Linked DNA regions of Homo sapiens: all the other regions are linked to region 4. The links are contacts of gene promoters, found by promoter capture Hi-C in blood cells and fetal thymus (Javierre and others, 2016). All regions are on one chromosome and are shown on one strand. Each heading gives the region's core, a stretch centred on a gene start or on the middle of the fragment in contact. The rest is flanking DNA. Distances are from core to core; before and after follow the strand shown. Region 1 overlaps KIAA1549. Region 2 holds the start of AKR1D1 (aldo-keto reductase family 1 member D1). Region 3 overlaps LOC124901752 (a long non-coding RNA gene). Region 4 holds the start of TRIM24 (tripartite motif containing 24). Region 5 overlaps AKR1D1 (aldo-keto reductase family 1 member D1). Region 6 overlaps KIAA1549. Region 7 has its middle 31 kb from the start of CREB3L2.

Region 1 (2,700 bases), core at 98-2,597, 410 kb after region 4:
ACTTGCTGTCTGTAAGCTCCACGGAGTCACCGAGAGAGCGACAGGCACAGACCAGGGAGGAGCAGAGACCCTGCCATCCCACGAGCTTTACCCTCAAGCACTGTGTGGTGCACTGGAGTCTTGTCACCATCCCCCAAAGCAGGGAAAAAAAGTCACTCGAACCTTGGAAATCGGCCAATGACAACTTTAAAGAGACATCTGATAACCAGAAAAGAATATTTTCCTCCTTTAGAGATCTTTAATAAATAGGACTGACAGATATAAAGAGGATAATTACCTAGTGTCACCAAAACAAGTTACCTGACATGAGACCCCCTGCCCCCAGAGTGGTATCCCCAAAGACGGAAACCTGAACTGCGTTGAAGCGTGAGGAGGATCAGAAGCTGAAGTGGCTCTTTCTGAGGAGGGCAGCCCCTGGTCGGCCGCACTAACACTTTTCTGCATGTCTGCCAATGCGCCCCAGAGTGTCCATGCACAGTATCTGATCTCCAACAAGCGTGATGTTTTACATTAAGAATCCTTGTCAGCAGCTTATGCCTTCAGTAACTAGTTGACACTGTACCTTGCACTCATTTTCAAACACAGACCCAATAAGTGTGTGAGTTTTTTTTGTTTTTGTTTTTGTTTTGAGATGGAGTCTCACTCTGTCAACCAGGCTGGAGTGCAGTGGCGAGATCCCGGCTCAGTGCAAACTCCCCCTCCCGGGTTCAAGTGATTCTCCTGCCTCAGCCTCCTGAGCAGCTGGGATTACAGGAACCCGCCACCACGCCCAGCTAATTTTGTATTTTTAGTAGAGATGGCGTTTCACCATGTTGGCCAGGCTGGTCTCAAACTCCCGACCTCAGGCGATCTGCCTGCCTTGGCCCCCCCAAGTGCTGGGATTACAGGCATAAGCCACCGGGCTTAGCCGAGTTTTTTAAGTAACAGACTTTTAAATAAAAGCAAATACCTCTTTGTTGATTTTATTGCTTTCCGCCACTCGGTCGGCTGGGGAGGGGCGCTGGACGGGAGGTGCCGGGATCGGCTGCATGGCGATAAGCTGGATCTTACTGGGGACCCGCCGGCTAGCCTCCGGGGGGCGGGAGATCCTGTCCACGTGCTCGAAGATGGAGGCTGATGAGTGCTGCTCATTTCCCGAACTGGGCAGTGGTGGCCCTGGAACAGAAGGAAAAGCAAAACACATACACGAAGTCATCTAAAGAAACAGCAACTAATCAAAATTGTGAATTATTCTTTAAAGAATCTTTGGATGGGCCTCTGACCAAAAATACATCCCCACTGCAGTAGCAGAGTGTTTACAATTTCACTCTCTGAGCTTAAATAGTCTGGGCTATATACTGTATCCTCTAACTTCATTAAAAATTACAAGTACCCTAAGAAGAGACGTGAGGAAATCATTATGATACTGTGTGAAAAACTGCACTGTTTTGTCTGTGGTTCAAAATCTTCATTCAGAAAGAATATAGGACAGAAGGAGCCTGAAGTTGCTCAGTAGTCAATAAGCCATTCACAGAACTCTCAGAAAACACATTTATAGCGGCTCTGAACTATTGCTACCATCTGGCAGGGAGCTCGCTGGAGTGATACAAATTCAGCTGCCAAGGCAATGTCGTACTACAGAGAAAACAGAAGACCAGTACGTGCAGGCAGGTACCAGTTAACAGTGACCACACTTCTGACTTTTCAGTTCTGATGTGGAAAGAAAACGAAGTTGAAGACACATGAGAAGAAAAAACCTGTTGCTTGCAGGGAATTAGTTCCTACTTTATTTATTTTTTTAATTTATTTTTTATTTTTTTGAGACGGAGTCTCACTCTCTCGCCTAGGCTGGATAGTGATTCTCCTGCCTCAGCCTCCTGAGTAGCTGGAATTACAGGAGCATGCCACCATGCCTAGCTAACTTTTGTATTAATACTTTTAGTAGAGACAAGGTTTCACGATATTGTCCAAGTTGGTCTTGAACTCCTGACCTCAAGTGATCCACCTGCCTCGGCCTCCCAAAGTGCTGGGATTACAGGCAGGAGCCACCGGGCCCGGCGCTAGTTCCTACTTTAAAAACAGTTGAAGAGTACATGTATAAATGGTTACATGGCAAATTTTAGGCCATGTATATTCAACCACAATAATTTTCTTAAAAACTAATCAGAACTGTGAAAAAAAAAAAAAAGAAATTCAAATGCACAAAAAAAAAGACAGAAAAGAAACACTTAAAAATATTAACAGAGACTGAATCTTCACATGATGGGTGATTTTTCCCCATGTCTTTTATTTTTGATAATGAGGATTTTCTGTAATAAGTATTATTTTTACAGTAGAGATAATCCCAATACACTTTAATTTTGAAAAAAGAGAAAGAGAAAAATGAAGACGGGCTGAGTAGAAAGAGCTAGTTACTCACACTTAAGAAGATCAACTGGCCAGGCACAATGGCTCATGCCTGTCATCCCAGCACTTTGAGAGGCTGAGGCAAGAGGATTGCTTGAGCCCAGGAGTTTGAGACCAGCCTGGGCAACATAGTTAAGACCTTGTCTCTACAATTTTTTTTAATTAGTTGGGCGTGGTGGCACATGCCTGTAGTCCTAGTCACTCAGAAGGCTGAGGTGGGAGGATCCCTTAAGCCCAGGAGGTAGAGGGTGCAGTGAGCCGAGATCATGTCTCTACATTCCAGCCTGGGTGACAGAGTGAGACCCTGTCCCCCAA
Region 2 (2,700 bases), core at 81-2,580, 390 kb before region 4:
CTAAATAGCAAAAACTCAGTAATAATAAAAATAACAAACACATGCTAATCAACATTTTAGCACACAAAGGTGCACAGTAAGCATTTGTTGTATCAATTTAAAAATGATATTAAAGACCATTACTGCTATGTTCCACATTGCCACAGCCTAGTTTAAATTACTGTGTCTAGCTGAATACTGAACATGTTATATATACGTTATGTGTTAATGTGTACATAAGCAAGAATGACTGTTGGAGGGAGGGCAAGTCAATTATAGACAAACTTTATTGCTGAAATACCTGGAGTTCAGTCAAGATTGTGATGCTCCCTGCACGGAATGCCAATCACTAAGTCAACAAGGATTGCCAGAGAAGAAGGCTTTAATCTAGTCCTGCAGTCAAGGAAAGTGGGAGTTCAGTCTCAAATCTGTCTCCCTGACTGACCAAAATTGATCTGTTTACATAGCAGGGAAGGTGCGAAAAGAAATTAGGGAGGGATAAAGAAGAAATCCTGATGAATCAGGTATTTGGTATCTCAGTATCAGGATGTGGTGATCTAGTGAGTTTCAGTCCCTTGCCTGAGGGTCAGTTTCCTGAGGAAAAAACTCAGTTAAGACATAAGTTTCAAGTTTTAAGACAGAGGGCACATTTCTATGTTTATTCAAAAATCCATAAATATGGGACAATTTGGCCAGTTTCAACTTCAGGACATTTTAACCATTGTGGACTCAGTGACCTGTGAAGTGTACAGGCCAGGGAAACTTCCTCTTTGCCTTCTGAAGTTTCACTGAAAAATCAACTCACAAAAGGCAGATTAATTGGAGAAAAGGTATTCAATTTTATTTAACTATATGTTTACACAGGGAGAACCACAGAGTGATTACCCACCCACAACAGGGTTTAGAAGCTTATTTACTGGTAAATCAGGTTATGGGAGAGGGGAAAAGAGGAATTCTGTTGAGGAGATCACTAGGGAGAATGAATGGATCAGGGAGTAGAGATTAACTTGTACATTACCTTGTGAAAGGGTTTGTTCAGGAAAGGTTACATTCTTAGTCTTACAGGGAGAGGAAGAAAAACGAATTGTTCCTTTTGGTGGGTCTGGATCTTAGGCAGATAAAGGAACTTCACTTTGGGAGAGGTGGTAGGGAGTAGAGGTCAGAGGGACCTTGAGGCTTTTCCAGTTCAGTATGTCAAAGTGCCATATTTTGGGGTATCAGTTTCTGACTCCCAACACATTCTTTGTCTTCTTTTTTTGTAATGGATCATGAGATAACAGGTAGGGGAAAAAGAACAATTGTCCTCCTTGGTGGGTCCATCCTATCTTTATGTAGACAGGGGAAAGTCTCTTCCAGAGCCCGTTGATCTCTAAGGGTCTTTACTTCAAAATCTTCATTATACCAGGGAGCCATATGTTGGGGTGGAATTTCCTGCCTCCTTCAACCCCCAGCTCCAAATTTGGAAATGGCTTCTAATTTTTTTAAGGAAATGTCTTTTATTTCCTTTGGCCACTGTGATTGATTTCACGATGGATCCATGAACCAAGAAAGGCAATCAAGGCTAACAAGTTTCAATTTCAGGACTACTGTTTGAGCTACTGAGAAAGTAAAATCTCTTTTTCGTTGTTTGAGCTGGAAACCTTGTCACTCCAAGGACAGTCAGTAAACACTTTTCAATGTTAAGGGAACTGAGAGAGAGAGTTTCCTGAGAGAACAGGAAGGCAGAGAGACGAATGAGAAGTGAGAAATTGGTCCTGGCCATGTTATTGTTCCTCTAGTCCAGTTTAACTGGTGATAAGCTTAACTTGTGATAAAGATCCTAGATCCCTTTCCAGTCCTGCTGCATCCAAATCTCCCAGGAAGTCCTAGAAAATGTCTAGTCTCCCCTGAAGCTAGCCCTACTGCCAGAATTTGAGGAATATGAACCAATAAATTTCCATTATAGTTTAAGAGAATTTAAGATAGATGTGTGTATTAGTTCATTCTCACACTGCTAATAAAGACAACCAAGACTGGGTAATTAACAAAGAAAAAGAGATTTAATGGGCTCACAGTTCCACATGGCTGGGGAGGCCTCACAATCATGGCAGAAGGTGAAAGAGGAGCAAAGGCATGTCTTACATGGCAGGAGGCAAGAGAGCATGTGCAGGGGAACTGTCCTTCATAAAACCATCAGATCTTGTGAGACTTATTCACTATCACAAGAGCAGCATGGGAAAAAAACACCCCCATGATTCAATTACCTCCCACTGAGTCCCTCCCATGACATTGGGGATTGTGGGAGCTACAATTCAAGATGAGATTTGGTTGAGGACGCAGCCAAACTATGTCAGTCTCTTATTTGCCAACAAAAGCATCCTAACTGATAGAGGCCAGACAGATTTGTTTCTTTTTGTTTTTTCAATCTTTTGTTGTGAAGAAGTAAGCATAAACTCTCAATAGGTTACGTTTTACAAGCCTCTGATGAAGTTCAAAGGACAACCATGCTTAGGATTTCCAGGACAACCTGGAAAAAAAAACAGGTTGAGAAATAGGTGTGTTAATCTCCCTTCCCTCTGCTCCTCCCTCTGGCCTTCCTTTCTTTGATGGAATAGGCCCTAGGACACCTTTCTAAAAAGACTCCCTGTGGTGTTCAGAATCACTCCTACAGTCAGGTTCTCCACAATGGATCTCAGTGCTGCAAGTCACCGCATACCTCTAAGTGATGGAAACAGCATTCCC
Region 3 (2,700 bases), core at 74-2,573, 440 kb before region 4:
GAAAACCATCAGATCTCATGAGAACTCACTCACTATCACGAGAACAGCATGGAGGAAACTGCCCCCATCATCCAATCATCTCCCTTTCTCGACACATGGGGACTACAGGTCCCTTCCTCAGCACATGGGAATTACAATTCGAGATGAGATTTGGGTGGGGACACAGAGCAAAACCGTATCACTTTTCATTTTTGAGACAGGGTCTCACTCTGTCACCCAGGCTGGAATGCAGTGGTGTGATCATGGTTCACTGCAGCCTTGACCTCCCAGGCTCAAGCAACCCTCCTGCTTCAGCTTCCCAAGTAGCTGGAACTGTAACCAACCATCCCCATTTTTCTAAGAGATAATTTATTTTTTCTATCTTCTTTTCTCTTTCCTCCTTTTCCCACTTTCTAGTTAGTCCTTTAGAAATGCAAATATAGCCTTTTACCTCCCCTTCACCAGACATTCCCTACAGGGTAAGTTCATCTAACTATCTGCTTAGGAGCTCCAGAAAGGAAATCTCACCCACCAGGAGGTTGCCTTGAGAGATAACAGTCAATTTACAACCCAAAGTACACATGCCCACAAAGACACAGGCAGTCACCACCTTGACTACCTAGTAGATAAGGTACCAAACTAACATGTAGATGCTGCACTTGCTTACTTCCCCCGACCCCATGTGCCATTCATGTTAAGCCCCCTTTAAAAGTGCTTACTTCCTGCTCCAAAAGCAAAGTGATACCCCTAGGCAGGAAGCCTGTACTTGTTCCCCTCAGCTAGCTTTGGAATAATTTAAAAAAAAAAAATCACTTTCTTTATACCAGAACTCACTTTTATTAACTGGACTCTGCAAGCAGCAAATAGCTGAACCTGCATTTCGGTTACAATTTTGGTGGCCCATATAGGGAAAGTGCTGCATGCTCTGGGTGAATCTGTGCCTGACAGCCGGCTTTTGCTACCGGGCAAGGTTTTGTTGGGGTCACCTGTGAGCACCAGCTGCTCATGGCTAGCAGATCTCATGACAGGAACATTCAGGAACTTCTCAGCAGCTGCCAAAAATGCTTTTGGTTTGGGGGAGCCTCCCTTTCGCCTCACAGCACATTTGCTGCCTTCAACTCTCTGCTGGTATAAAGAAAGTGACCTCTGTAAGACCCGGCAAACTTTGGAAGTGGCTGAGTTAGCTGGAAGTGCACCTGATCACCCTCTGCTTCTTTTGGGGTGTCACTGGGGCCCGGTTCTACCTAAGACTTGGCTGCTAGTGACACCATTTGAGCATTTTAGGTGTTTCTGTTTGTAAGTGTGGCACCATGGGAGCTTTGCTGGGCCTATGGAACCATTTGGACCTGGGGAGGGGCATTCAGCATCTCACTCAGCCTCCTTGATTGGAGACTCATTTGGAAGTATGCTGTTTGTTTGCATGTACTTTGTGAATGGGCCCTGATTTCTTTCTTTCCTCTCTACCTCCAATCTCACTCTTCTAACTATCTTCAGAGAGCCACCTACAGCCTTAGTCCTCTCAACTGCAGGCTTCCCTAGCTCCCTATGACTGGAAACAGCTCATCTTGACCAGTGACTTGTGAAGGTGGGAGGGTCCCATCCCATATCATGTGGACCTGGGGTGCTGAGGCTCTCCTGAATGGGAGATAAACAGGGGTGATGGGAGTATCAACCCTGTGCCGTGTAGTGGCTGGAAGCTCACGAGCTCCCTTTCTATCGCTTTACTGTTTCTTCTTATTTCCTTTTCCTCTTTCTCATGCCCTGCTTGTAAAACCTGGCTCCTATGCAGAGGCTGGCCAGACTATATATTCCTCTATTTTCTTTTCTGCCTGCTTTAAATCTGCTGTTACTTTACCGGTGTTAAGACAAAAACCACCATTTGGATTCAACTGTTTTTTAATAAACAGATGAGTTTGCATTGATATCTCTTAGCTAGAGTTCAAAAATGAAAGCTATAAGATCTTTGTTTATATGAGTGTGTATATGTGTGTTTATGTGTACACACATGTATTTTGTTATATGTTGCTGCTACAAGGTACCAAATTGACTTGAAGTTAAGGAGTACTCATGAGACTTAAGGAAAATCTTGAATAAATAAGCTGGCTTTAAAATTATTGGTAAAATAATATTAGAAATGTCTTATGAATTGTCAATATACATTTTTGTTCAGATTTATTGATCAAGTGGTTTCATACTTATCTCTGCCAGATATTATAAGGCATCAAAATTTGGCATAAAAGTTAAAAAACTATAAACCTAGCCCCAAAAAGAATGATCTTTGCTTGTGTAATTTTTGATAAATAGGACATTTAATGTTGTTTAATAGAAACAGCTAAATCTTCTAAGTCGGCAGTCCCCAACATTTTTGGCACCAGGGACTGGTTTCGTGGAAGACAATTTTTCCATGGAGCCCGGGAAGAGGGTAATGGTTTGGGGATGATTCAAGCACATTACATATATTGTGCACTTTATTTCTATTATTATTACATTGTATATATAATGAAATAATTCTACAACTCACCACAATATAGAATCAGTGGGAGCCCTGAGCTTGTTTTCCTGTAACTAGACTGTCCCATCTGGGGATGATGGAAGATAGTGACAGATCATTAGGCATTAGAGTCTTATAAGAAGCACACACCCTAGATCCCTCGCATGCACAGTTCACAATAGGGTACATACTCCTATGAGAATCTAATGCCACTGCTGATCTGACAGGAG
Region 4 (2,700 bases), core at 162-2,661:
TGAATAACTGAATACGGAGGTGGCCCAAGCACCTGTTTTTCACTAAGCTTCTCAAGTTATTCTTATGCAAACTAAGGTTTAAGAGCTACTTCCATGCAAAAAAACAAACAAACAAAAAATCCCAAGCTTAAACAGGAACCAATGGGTGGGGGAGGCGGGAAGAGCTGTTGAATGTCTTGTGATTAAGTAAAAGAACCTCTCACTTGAGGCCTACGGAGGTTGTGTTTAAGGGCAAGGTCTTGAAGGAAGGCTACGTTGCCTAGCCCTCCCCCATTGCCATCCCATATAGTCCTCCAGGAAAACTGTGATTTTAGCAAAGCCTTTCATGACCCACTCCATCTTTCTCTAAAGTCCAGTACCGCTTCATTAGTATTGACAAAAAAAAAAAAAAAAGGTAAATACTTCTTAAAGTTACGTGTTACAAAATCTTGTTTCCTTCATTCCGTTTCTATTCTTCAAGTTCCTTAAAAGCTGCGCCATTTTTTGAGTGAAAAATGTGCGTAACTTCTGATATCAGCGTAGAGAGGTGAGGGAGGGAGGGAGGGAATAAAATAAGAGGGAGGGAGGAAATACAAAAGAATCCTGAAGTTATGAATTATTTGGGTAACAGTATTGAGGTTTATTTTTGCTTAATGATGCTATATTTATGCAATAAAAACATTTGTCAATCTGTATTAATTCCTGGGAAAACGAACCACTTTTAGTCACTTAAAAAGCAAATCACTGACTTTAAAAATTAATTTCACCTTTTTCATTGGGGAAACCCTTTAAAAATTTCCAACTTGCACGAGAACTTCCCCCCCTTATTCTTCATACTCATTCATTCTAGAGATGAGTAAAATTAGGTTGCAATATCCCTGCTGCCTCCAGAGTACCTCTTTCACACAGTATTTTAAAAAATTATTTCCTTGTTTGCTCTTCAGTACCTCCACTCCTTCCTCCTGTGACCCTCCGACCATATTTACTCCTCCTACAAGACCAGGTCTCCAGTAATGAAATCAGTTTTCCAAGCAGTTACTTAATTAACGGCATTGAGTAGACAAGTGAGGTCCCGCCCCCTAGGAGGAGCTAACACCGCGGACCGAATCAGGCGGATGGTCGTTAACAAATGAACCCTTAATCTTTTCAGAGGAGGAAACATACACAAAGGCCCAATCAGAAGCCGCGATTTCAGGCGTCCGGAGGGGGCGGGGCTGGGCAAGCACCTCCCACTTCCCAACCTCCCGCCGCGGCCGACGGAGCCTCGCGGGCTCCAACAGGTCCCGCCCCCTCGCCAGGCGCGGCCGCTATTGGGCGGCGCGCTCCACACCGAAGCCTCAGTTGCTGGGAGAGGGAGGGCGGGGGCGGGGGCGGGGCCTGAGGTGGGCCAGGGGGATGAAGAGAAAGGCGGGGAGGCAAGGGCGGGCTGGGCGTATTCCACGAGCGCCTCGGCGGTTGGCGAAGCGGACGGGGTGCAGCCTCCCCGGTGCGAGGAACGGTCTCCGCTGACAGATACCCTCCTTCCGGCCGCGCCACTCGGGAGGCGGATCCCGTGGGCCTGAGGAGGCTTCCCCCGCCCGGTTTGCTTTCCCTCCCTCGCTGGCGCTGCCGCGAGTCCACCGAGCGGCCTCTGAGGAGCAGCCGCAGGAGGAGGAGGAGGTCGTCGGGGGCGGCGGGCGGAGACCGCGCTCTCGCTTCCCCGGCGGCGGCAAGGGCAGGACAATGGAGGTGGCGGTGGAGAAGGCGGTGGCGGCGGCGGCAGCGGCCTCGGCTGCGGCCTCCGGGGGGCCCTCGGCGGCGCCGAGCGGGGAGAACGAGGCCGAGAGTCGGCAGGGCCCGGACTCGGAGCGCGGCGGCGAGGCGGCCCGGCTCAACCTGTTGGACACTTGCGCCGTGTGCCACCAGAACATCCAGAGCCGGGCGCCCAAGCTGCTGCCCTGCCTGCACTCTTTCTGCCAGCGCTGCCTGCCCGCGCCCCAGCGCTACCTCATGCTGCCCGCGCCCATGCTGGGCTCGGCCGAGACCCCGCCACCCGTCCCTGCCCCCGGCTCGCCGGTCAGCGGCTCGTCGCCGTTCGCCACCCAAGGTGAGAACCGGCCGCGGCCGCTGGGGAGCCCGGGGAGAGGGCCAGGAGGGGGCGGGCGCCCTTGTGCGGCGCGACCCGCTGTCATGTCGCCGCCGCCCGGGGTGCGCGGCGGGGGAGGGGCGAGCAGGAGGGTCTGTGCTGGCGACGGTGACATGGAGGGCCCGCGCTCTGCGGCGTGTCGCGCTCGGCCAGCAACTTCCCCGGGCGCTGTGGACTTGACCGCGCCGCCGCCGCCGCCGCTGCTCCGCATTCTCAACAGCCGGGCGGCCCCTGCCACTCGCACTTTTGCAGACCTCTGTCGGAGTCTCCTGCAGCCGGAATCTCGGGTTCTTTGCCGGCTGCAGCCAGTTAACTGCTACCCGCCCGCTGCCTCCACAAAGCTTTGTCCAGGTCCATATGATCCTGATCATCTCGTCTATACTCACGTTATTTGAGCTGCAGGGGAGAAGGGAGGGATGAAGATGAAGTGATGGTGACTTTCTTTGATGATTGATTGCAGATCGGATGTCATTTATTTCTTATCTTGCATGTTTGGGGCTCTTTACCTTAATGAGTTCCCAGTTCTCTTCCCTCTCCTCTGCTGGGGACAAAGGAACCAAGAGACGTTGTTTTGTTGTGTGTCTCTTTCAAAGGTT
Region 5 (2,700 bases), core at 183-2,682, 350 kb before region 4:
TCCAACCTAGACTCACTTTCCTCTCCAAGTATTATCCACTTCTCTCTTCTGTTTCAAACATCTGGAAAGAGAAGTTGTTCTCGCTGCTTCCCATTCCCTTCCCCCACTATCTCTTGAAGCCATTCAAACCAAACTTTTACCCTGACCATCCCACTGGAACAGCCCTTGTCAAAGTTACCAGTGACCTCCACATTGCTAGATCCAGTAATTCTCAGTCCTTGTCCCACTTGGTCTTTCAACCACATCTGATACAGTTAACAATATCTCCTTCTTCAAACATTTACTGAAAGGGAAAACTGTAGGGGAAGCAGTTTGAGAAGAACTATCAGGAGCTCAGTTTTGTAATATGAGATCCTCATTCACTTAGGATAATTTGTGCCATGGGAGAAAAAAAAGACCACTGAAAATTAATCCACATACGACAAGAAAAAACATGACACAGAAATAATGTAGAGAGGGTGAATTTGAAAGCTTATATTAAGATCGAAACCAAAGTTTATGAAAGTAAGTTCACTTCTATTCTCAACAAAATGTAGGTTACAATTGCAAGTTTATTAACTCAGAAGAAACAGTGAATCAGTGTTGATTTTTTTTAAATATGCTTGACAAAATTACATACCACAACATGACATCCTCTATTTCACAAAAGTTTTGCAGAATGTTCATAAAGAGAATAATTATCACAAAAATTTTGGAGGGCTTTATCTGAAGGAGATTTTTAATTCTTTAATTTTTTTTTCAAGTCACACTCTTTTGACATATCTATCAAAGTAGATTTTTAACTGTGCAGGATTCTTCTTTGAAAAAGATCATACCTATAATTAGAACAAATCTCCAAGATCATTTTCTTTGATTTCATAAAATCCTGCATCTTTGCAAGGTTTGCAACCTCACTTTGCCATTAGATTATTCCATATATTTACTGGATAAGAGGCTGATCCTCCAAGACTTAAAGGAGAGGACTAGTGTTTAGCAAAAAAGAAGTCTGAGTAAGGATTCATTTTATAGGCGATTCATTCATTTTTATATTGTGCACATTTTTGATTCCTTATGTAATCTCATAAATGCCAATAATTGGATAATAAATCATAAAAGAAAATGGTTCCCTGAAAAGAGTACTTGGAAAGAATCCATGGAGGGATAATTAAGTAAATCGTGTTCCATCTACACAATGAATACCATGGCTAAATGAATAAAGTCAGGTTGCATATTGTGATAGAACTATCACTGGGGTCACTAAGATATTATGTGAATAAAGGAAAGTTGTAGAATCATAAAGATATGGTCCAATTACTGCATTTTCCTCTTAATGTGTGTAGTATTTGGGAGGAATATCTGGGAAGGGAAATAAGAATGGGGTGATGAGTGACAAGATTTTCATTATTTATTCCATATGGGTCTATGTACTTCTACAGTGTTTCATTTCTTTGCAAAGAGCGTATATTTATGTACTACTTATATAATTAAAATCTATTAATAATTAAATATATTAAAAGTTAAAGGATAGAAAGATAAAATAATAAAGAGAAGATAGGTTATATACAGATAATCCAAATGTTAAAAATAAAAGGAAGTGAAAAAATATATATAAATGTTAATAAGGGACAATCATAAAACCAGAATATAAATAAAGTATAAAATCTAAGAAAAATAAAACAATGGAAATGTAATTAGAATAAAAAGGTAGAAGAGACATAAAAAATGAGAGAAAGGATTTCAACATAGCAAATTAAAAGTTAAAAACAAAGCAAATTAAAAGTTTTTTTAAAAAGCAAATTTAGGCCAGGCGTGGTGAGGCTCATGCCTGTAATTGCAGCACTTTGGGAGGCTGAGGTGGGAGGATCGCTTGAGTTCAGGAGTTTGAGACCAGCCTGGGCAGCATGGTGAAACCCCATCTCTACAAAAATTGAAAAATTAGCCAGGCATGGCAAAACATGTCTGTAGTCCCAGCTACTTGGGAAACTGAGGCATGAGACTAGCTTGAACCCAGGAGGTGGAGGTTGCAGTGAGCCAAGATGATACCACAGCACTCCAGCCTGGGTGACAGAGTAAGACCCTGTCTCAAAAAAAAAAAAAAATCATATTTAGAGACTCAGAATTTTTTAAGTGTAAGACAGTAGTTCAGAATCAAAAGACCAGCATTTCATACAGAAATAAGAATTCTTCACATTTGAAATTTTAGGGGATTTCATTAACATTTGTGGTTTCAGAGCATTTGGAATTTCTTGTAAGATGTCCCCAGAAAGACCGTCTCAAAAACAAAGGGCAGAACAGAGTATCCAGCTCCACCTCAGTGGGTAGCCCCCCAACACCAGCCTGACTCCTCTTAGACATTTGCAGAGATATTCATACATCTTTGGAAGGCTCCCACCGGTGGCCCCACTTTCTGATCCCAAGCTTGACCTTCAAAAATGTTCTATTATTTCCGTTATTTCAGATCTTTGACTTTTCTCTCACTGAAGAAGAAATGAAGGACATTGAAGCCTTGAATAAAAATGTCCGCTTTGTAGAATTGCTCATGTAAGTTCCGGGGATCATTAATGGGTATTGACCAGTGGTATTGAATGGTCATGTGTCAAGCAACAAGGCTCATAAGAACCCTGACCTATGTCCATAGCACCAGGGCAAAGCATGGTGGGCCGCATATTCTGAATGTTAACATGCCTGAGGGAAATACATCCACTACAGGGCCTTCCACAA
Region 6 (2,700 bases), core at 138-2,637, 450 kb after region 4:
CCTGTGCTGCATGCACACTGGACAGCTGGTGAGTACGTAAGTACTGTTCAGACTTTTGTGCACTAGGTTAGAAAGGCCTTCAACTGCAATGCCATACCTCTAAATATCTGACCCACTCCCCTAAGACAAAAAAAAAAAAAAAAAAAGCTTCCCAGGTGCCAAGCCACCCTGCTTGTCCTTATTAAACTAAACAAATAACACTTTTAGAAAAAAAAAAATAAAACAAGAGAGAGATCCTTGCTTCTAAACCTCACCCTATTCTGGGTCAGAAGATTGTCAGTTCCTGTTAGACTCTGCCCTGAACTTGATGTATGAATTTTAAAGAAAGTCAGTCCTTTTTGTTCTATAACTCAGTGGGATATATTCCCACAGCCAAATTTGAATCCCTTTCCATTCATTCTTTGCCAAGAATGTAAGGTACATTTTGCCCTAAATTTAGGAAACAAGAAAGGCAGCATCATTCTCAATACGCCTGCATAGACTTCTTCTCCTTACAGTTCCCAAAATATTACATAAGTTAAACATACCTGTTCTGACCCAAGAGGACTTCAGCAACTGAGATAAGTTGAGCTGTGGATACTGGAAGGCTACAAAAGGGAAAGAATTAGGGAAGGAGAAAAATATCTGTAAAAACAAAGCCATGTTTACAACAAAGTCCCAACACATCGTCTTTACTATTTAGCTCTAAATGTGAAAGAACAAAATGTCAGATTAGCGTGAGGACGTGGACAGTAGCCATTTCTGAACACATTAGTCTCAAGGAAAAAGAGAGAGATAAAAAGAAAAGAAGGGCCGCTCCAGCTATGTCACAGGACACTGCTTCACAGAGAGGTCACCGGCAAGTTCTCCTTTGAATGTCACTGTTCCACAGCAATCCATGTTCACACCGTGCCCCTCAGAGCCCTGGCTTTCCCAGCAAGGTCTCAGGGTAAAGTGACCACATGCGTTGACCTGCCCAGGACCAGCCAGTGTGCCCCGCCGTCCGGCATCCTCATTTTAGCCATACACACACTGAGCACAACTGAAAGCGGCTCTTTGTAAATAACAGCTTTATCTCTGTCTACTTTCATATAGAATAACTTCTGTAAAGTTATTCTTTTTAGTTTAATTAACAATACACTAAAATACACTACGAATCATTAGGCCATTTGGTTGTTTCATTTTGAAAAAGAATTGGAATTTTTTGGCCTGATTTCAACTCTGGAATCTACTATTTTTTTTTTTTAAATAAACGTCTCCCCTTTCCCCCACTGCCTCCATTGGCATTGTGAAGCTAGTTGCTTCAGTCAGGAAGAAAGGTTTCATGTTTTCACTTATTGTTTTTATTTTAAAATTTACACAGTAAATGTCACTCTTTTCAGTATACAGTTTTATGGGTTTTGATAAATGTGTATATATTCACATAATCATCACCACAATGAAGATATAGAACAGTTTCACAACCCCCAAAACACTGCCTTCTGCTACCCTTTTGTAGTCAAACTTTCCTGCGGCCCTTAAGCTCTGACAACCACAGATTCGTCCTCCCTAAATTATGCCTTTTCCAGAATTCGTGTACTTTTTGATAGCACCCCTTTACTCTCCAAATAATAAAGTCAGGCACGGTGGGTGAGCAGGGCTCTGCAGACCCATCTGGCCTGAATCCAGTTTTATCAGATTTATATTCTGGCACTCAAATCAGATATTTCATTTGAAAAAAGTGGTCCAGGTGAAAATACTCTGTATGATACTAAAATGGAGAATCCATGCCATTTGCATGTCATTACACATTTGTTCAAACCCACAGAATGCACGACACCCAGGGTGAACCTTAATGTAAACTATGGGCTATGGATGATGATGCAGGTTCAACCAATGATGCAGGATCAACCAATGCAGGTTGATCACTGTAACAAATGGGCCACTGTGCTGGGGGATGCTGATAATGGAGGTTATGAATGTGCGGAAGCAGGAGGTATATGGGAAATCTGTGAACTCTCCGATCATATCTGCTGTGAATCCAAAAACTTCACTAAAAAAACTCAAGTCTTTTACTATTATTCTAAGTGAAATAATTCAGGAATGGAAAACCAAACATCGTATGTTCTCACTGATATGTGGGAGCTAAGCTATGAGGACACAAAGGCATAAGAATGATACAATGGACTTTGGAGACTTGGGGGGAAGAGTGGCGGGAGGAGGGATAAAAGACTACAAATGTGGAGCAGTGTATACTGCTCGGGTGATGGGTGCACCAGGATCTCAAAAATCACCACTAAATAACTTACTCGTGCAACCAAATACCACCTGTACCCCAACGCCTTATGGAAAAATAATTTTTAAAAAATCAAGTCTTTTAAAAAACTAAAAAAATTTTAAGAAGAGGTCTTCCACCAAAAATGCCCGCCATCACCTCCCCAGCATGTCCAAGAGGGCTGTACTCACGCTCTGCGATCTGCAGCACTGGGTATCCCAGATAGAAACTGAACTCCACCACACTCAAGTTTCTGAGCAGCTCGCTCACTTCCGACCCATTCAAAAATCCCTGTGTGCTTTTAACCGCAAAGATGATATTCACCGGGCCCCGCCGAGGAGTCACCCTTGAGGAACTGATGGTGATATTCAAGATCTGAAAGAATAAAGTCAGAATAAGCTTCTATAATAAAACATTCTGCTGAAAGCTTAACCATGATTTCTCTCTCACAGGTCCTCTCACCGATT
Region 7 (2,700 bases), core at 113-2,612, 430 kb before region 4:
GTTTCTGAGCCCCAAACAGCTTTATATTTTTACTTTTCACATTTAAATATATGATCTGTGAAAGGAAAGTAGAAAGTTGGGATCCCAACTCACTCTGCCAAAAGAAAAAAAAATTAACCTGAAAACTGAGTCATGCAAGAAGCTACTTTCCATTTTGTTACTAAGCAGCAAGCTACAGATAAGTTAAAAATCTCCACAAGTAGCTATTCTGTGGTCACCTTATGGTATAGTGAGCACAGGATGAATACATAATTGACTATTCCCCTACCTACTTTTTTTCTCTTACAACATGTGGATTCAGTAATGTGACCATATCCTCCCTCTGTCTCCTCCAGCCTGCTTTTCCCCTTTAAGTACTGAAGCCCTCAAAATCATCTTTGGAGAAAGAAACAGGCCTGTCTCCCAGGCACACATCCTTCACTTTGGCAAAATAAAGTTCTAATCAATTGAGACCTCTCTTGAATACTTTTTGGTTTATAAATTGGCAACCCAGGTAAGGGACTCTGAGTGGAGGTGTCCCTTACCTTTGACAAATCTCCTATTGGTGCTTGGTACCAGCGTGAACGAATATCTTTATTGCTCAAACCAACAGGACATTTTGCTGAGGTCTGGGAGCTACTCCCCTCCACAGAATCCTTGATCTCCCCAAATTTGGTTGCGATTTAAGGTTTATTTTGCTGTACAACTCCTTTTTCTGGAGTTTTATTCACTTCCAACAAGAAGGCCAGCTTTTTTGCTTCCATGACGATGGAGAGCAGCCAACTCATTCCTGGAGCTTCAGCTCACTTCCAACAGGGAAGGAATGTTTGAGATTTTTCCTGCTTCTAAGATGGTAGAGCGCAGTCTTCAGCCTGGGCCCCATTCCTAGATAAGTAGCTGAATTTGGGTTTTGTCTTGGAAATTCTCCTTAATGACTAAAGTTAACATTAACAACCAGCTGATCTTAATTTTTCCTTACCATTAGAGTATTCAGTTATTGTATAAATTATGCAATTGTTTGTTTTGCTAACTGTTTTTTGTTTCTGTTTTTGTTGTTGTTTTGATCTTTTTCCTTCGGGTTTGACCAACTCTACCCAACTTGATCAAGTCTGAAAAAAAGTTCCAAATTATGCGGAACAAAGCCTCTGAATTAGCTAAATTCCCATAGCCGGGGGGGAAAAAAAACGGCCAGCAAAAAAAGAAAGAGTTTTACTACTTGAGGGACTGCATTTGCATAACTAGGCCACCTTTTGCTAGCCAAGCCAAACTGATAGAGCAATGACTTCACATTGTAATCAGTAGCTAAGATTCCACCCTGTTTTTCACCATGACAGCCTGGGTTGGTTCCTAAATCAGGTTATCTCTGGCTTGACATTTCTGTTACTTTTGAAATATCAGTAGTTTGTCCCAGCTAAAAAATGGTATTGAGATTTAAAAGGATTTTTTAAGAGCTCAAAGGTTAAAAGTCTGCTTAATTAAAAGCTAATATCCAAGATGTAAATGTGTCTCTGTGTGCATTTTCATATTTATATATTACCTATATAATATGTAATTCATATTTATATATTATCTATAATATAAAATTCATAATATAATATGTATAATGTATATATATATATTTAAAAGGCCTTTATGTTTTCTTTCTCTCTAGGGTCTTGTTTTTTGAGAAAAAGGTTTTTTTCTTCGCAGTTGACTGAATTATGTTTTCTCCATTTACTTCTACCTGTCTCTCCTTCCTCTTGCCACCCTCTGCTGCATGAGGGAACTAAAATAATTTCTTTTTTTTTTCGAGATGGAGTCTTGCTGTAGTTGCCCAGGCTGGAGTGCAATGGTGTGATCTCAGCTCACTGCAACCTCTGCCTCCTGGGTTCAAGCAGTTCTCCTGCCTCAGCCTCCCAAGTAGCTGGGATTACAAGTGCCTGCCACCACACCTGGCCAATTTTTTTGTATTTTTAGTAGAAATAGGGTTTCACCACGTTGGCCAGACTGGTCTCGAACTCCTGACTGCCTTGGCCTCCCACAGTGTTGGGATTACAGGTGTGAGCCACCATGCCCAGCCAAACTAAAATAATTTCTAACAGCCTGGGCTTCCTTGAAGAAAACAGAAGGTGCTAGACTCCTTTTTGGGGCAAAACCTCTGTTTTTTTTATGACCCCCAAGAGTTTAAACAGACAAAGTCCTCTCATATCATAATCTGCTTGCTTTTGTATTGTGTTACCTGATTTTTTTTTTTTTTTTTTTTTTTGAGACAGAGTCACTCTGTTGCTTAGTGCAATGGCACTTAGGCTGGAGTGCAATGGCACGATCTTGGCTCACTGCAACCTCTGCCTTCTGGGTTCAAGCAATTCTCCCACCTCACGCTCCTGAATAGCAGGGATTACAGGCATGCACTGCCACACCCAGCTAATTTTTTTGTTTTTTAAATAGAGACAGGGTTTCACCATGTTGGCCAGATTTCTCTTGAACTCCTGACCCCATATGATCCTCCTGCCTTGGTCTCCCAAAATGCTGGGATTGCAAGCATGAGCCACTGTACCCAGCCTTACCTGATTTTTTTTTTTTTTTCTAAAATAGTTATTACAACAGGGATACTCTTGGGTGTTTAACATAAGAAAGGGTGTGTTAGTCCGTTTTCATGATGCTTATAAAGACATACCAGAGACGGGGAAGAAAAAGAAGTTTAATTGGACTTACAGTTCCATATGGTTGGGGAGGCCTCCG

Evidence for each region. The method cuts DNA at HindIII sites, captures the fragments that hold promoters and counts their contacts. A CHiCAGO score of 5 or more calls a contact.
Region 1: a contact is called between a fragment that was not itself captured here and the fragment with the promoter of TRIM24 in region 4, in 2 of 17 cell types (naive CD4 T cells and total CD4 T cells). The highest score is 6.3, in naive CD4 T cells.
Region 2: a contact is called between a fragment that was not itself captured here and the fragment with the promoter of TRIM24 in region 4, in 1 of 17 cell types (M0 macrophages). The highest score is 8.9, in M0 macrophages.
Region 3: a fragment that was not itself captured here is called in contact with the fragment with the promoter of TRIM24 in region 4 in 1 of 17 cell types (total B cells); the score reaches 6.3 in total B cells.
Region 5: a fragment that was not itself captured here is called in contact with the fragment with the promoter of TRIM24 in region 4 in 2 of 17 cell types (M0 macrophages and M1 macrophages); the score reaches 7.1 in M0 macrophages.
Region 6: a fragment that was not itself captured here is called in contact with the fragment with the promoter of TRIM24 in region 4 in 3 of 17 cell types (naive CD4 T cells, total CD4 T cells and fetal thymus); the score reaches 7.2 in naive CD4 T cells.
Region 7: a contact is called between a fragment that was not itself captured here and the fragment with the promoter of TRIM24 in region 4, in 1 of 17 cell types (total B cells). The highest score is 5.3, in total B cells.

What each region holds. Positions count from the first base shown.
Region 1 is chr7:138,870,208-138,872,907 of GRCh38, forward strand. It overlaps KIAA1549, which reads right to left. Exons shown (of 20, transcript NM_001164665.2): 13 at 950-1,155. Among named protein-coding and RNA genes, the nearest start is that of ATP6V0A4, 73 kb to the left of the region's middle. The HindIII fragment of the contact is 3,494 bases long and covers 1-2,700 here.
Region 2 is chr7:138,073,876-138,076,575 of GRCh38, forward strand. It overlaps AKR1D1 (aldo-keto reductase family 1 member D1), which reads left to right and starts at 2,584. Exons shown (of 9, transcript NM_005989.4): 1 at 2,584-2,700. The coding sequence starts at 2,644. The HindIII fragment of the contact is 891 bases long and covers 886-1,776 here.
Region 3 is chr7:138,014,331-138,017,030 of GRCh38, forward strand. All of the region lies in intron 2 of LOC124901752 (a long non-coding RNA gene), which reads left to right. Among named protein-coding and RNA genes, the nearest start is that of CREB3L2, 14 kb to the left of the region's middle. The HindIII fragment of the contact is 3,189 bases long and covers 1-2,700 here.
Region 4 is chr7:138,458,848-138,461,547 of GRCh38, forward strand. It overlaps TRIM24 (tripartite motif containing 24), which reads left to right and starts at 1,412. Exons shown (of 19, transcript NM_015905.3): 1 at 1,412-2,065. The coding sequence starts at 1,702. RefSeq lists enhancers at 1-377, 781-1,563 and silencers at 1,074-1,463, 1,524-1,773, 1,804-2,283. The HindIII fragment of the contact is 2,319 bases long and covers 125-2,443 here.
Region 5 is chr7:138,111,253-138,113,952 of GRCh38, forward strand. It overlaps AKR1D1 (aldo-keto reductase family 1 member D1), which reads left to right. Exons shown (of 9, transcript NM_005989.4): 8 at 2,438-2,520. Among named protein-coding and RNA genes, the nearest start is that of MIR4468, 11 kb to the right of the region's middle. The HindIII fragment of the contact is 1,926 bases long and covers 470-2,395 here.
Region 6 is chr7:138,904,495-138,907,194 of GRCh38, forward strand. KIAA1549 reads right to left here. Exons shown (of 20, transcript NM_001164665.2): 6 at 2,425-2,608; 7 at 528-587. Among named protein-coding and RNA genes, the nearest start is that of KIAA1549, 76 kb to the right of the region's middle. The HindIII fragment of the contact is 2,485 bases long and covers 146-2,630 here.
Region 7 is chr7:138,032,190-138,034,889 of GRCh38, forward strand. No RefSeq gene overlaps it. Among named protein-coding and RNA genes, the nearest start is that of CREB3L2, 31 kb to the left of the region's middle. RefSeq lists an enhancer at 1-250. The HindIII fragment of the contact is 5,322 bases long and covers 1-2,700 here.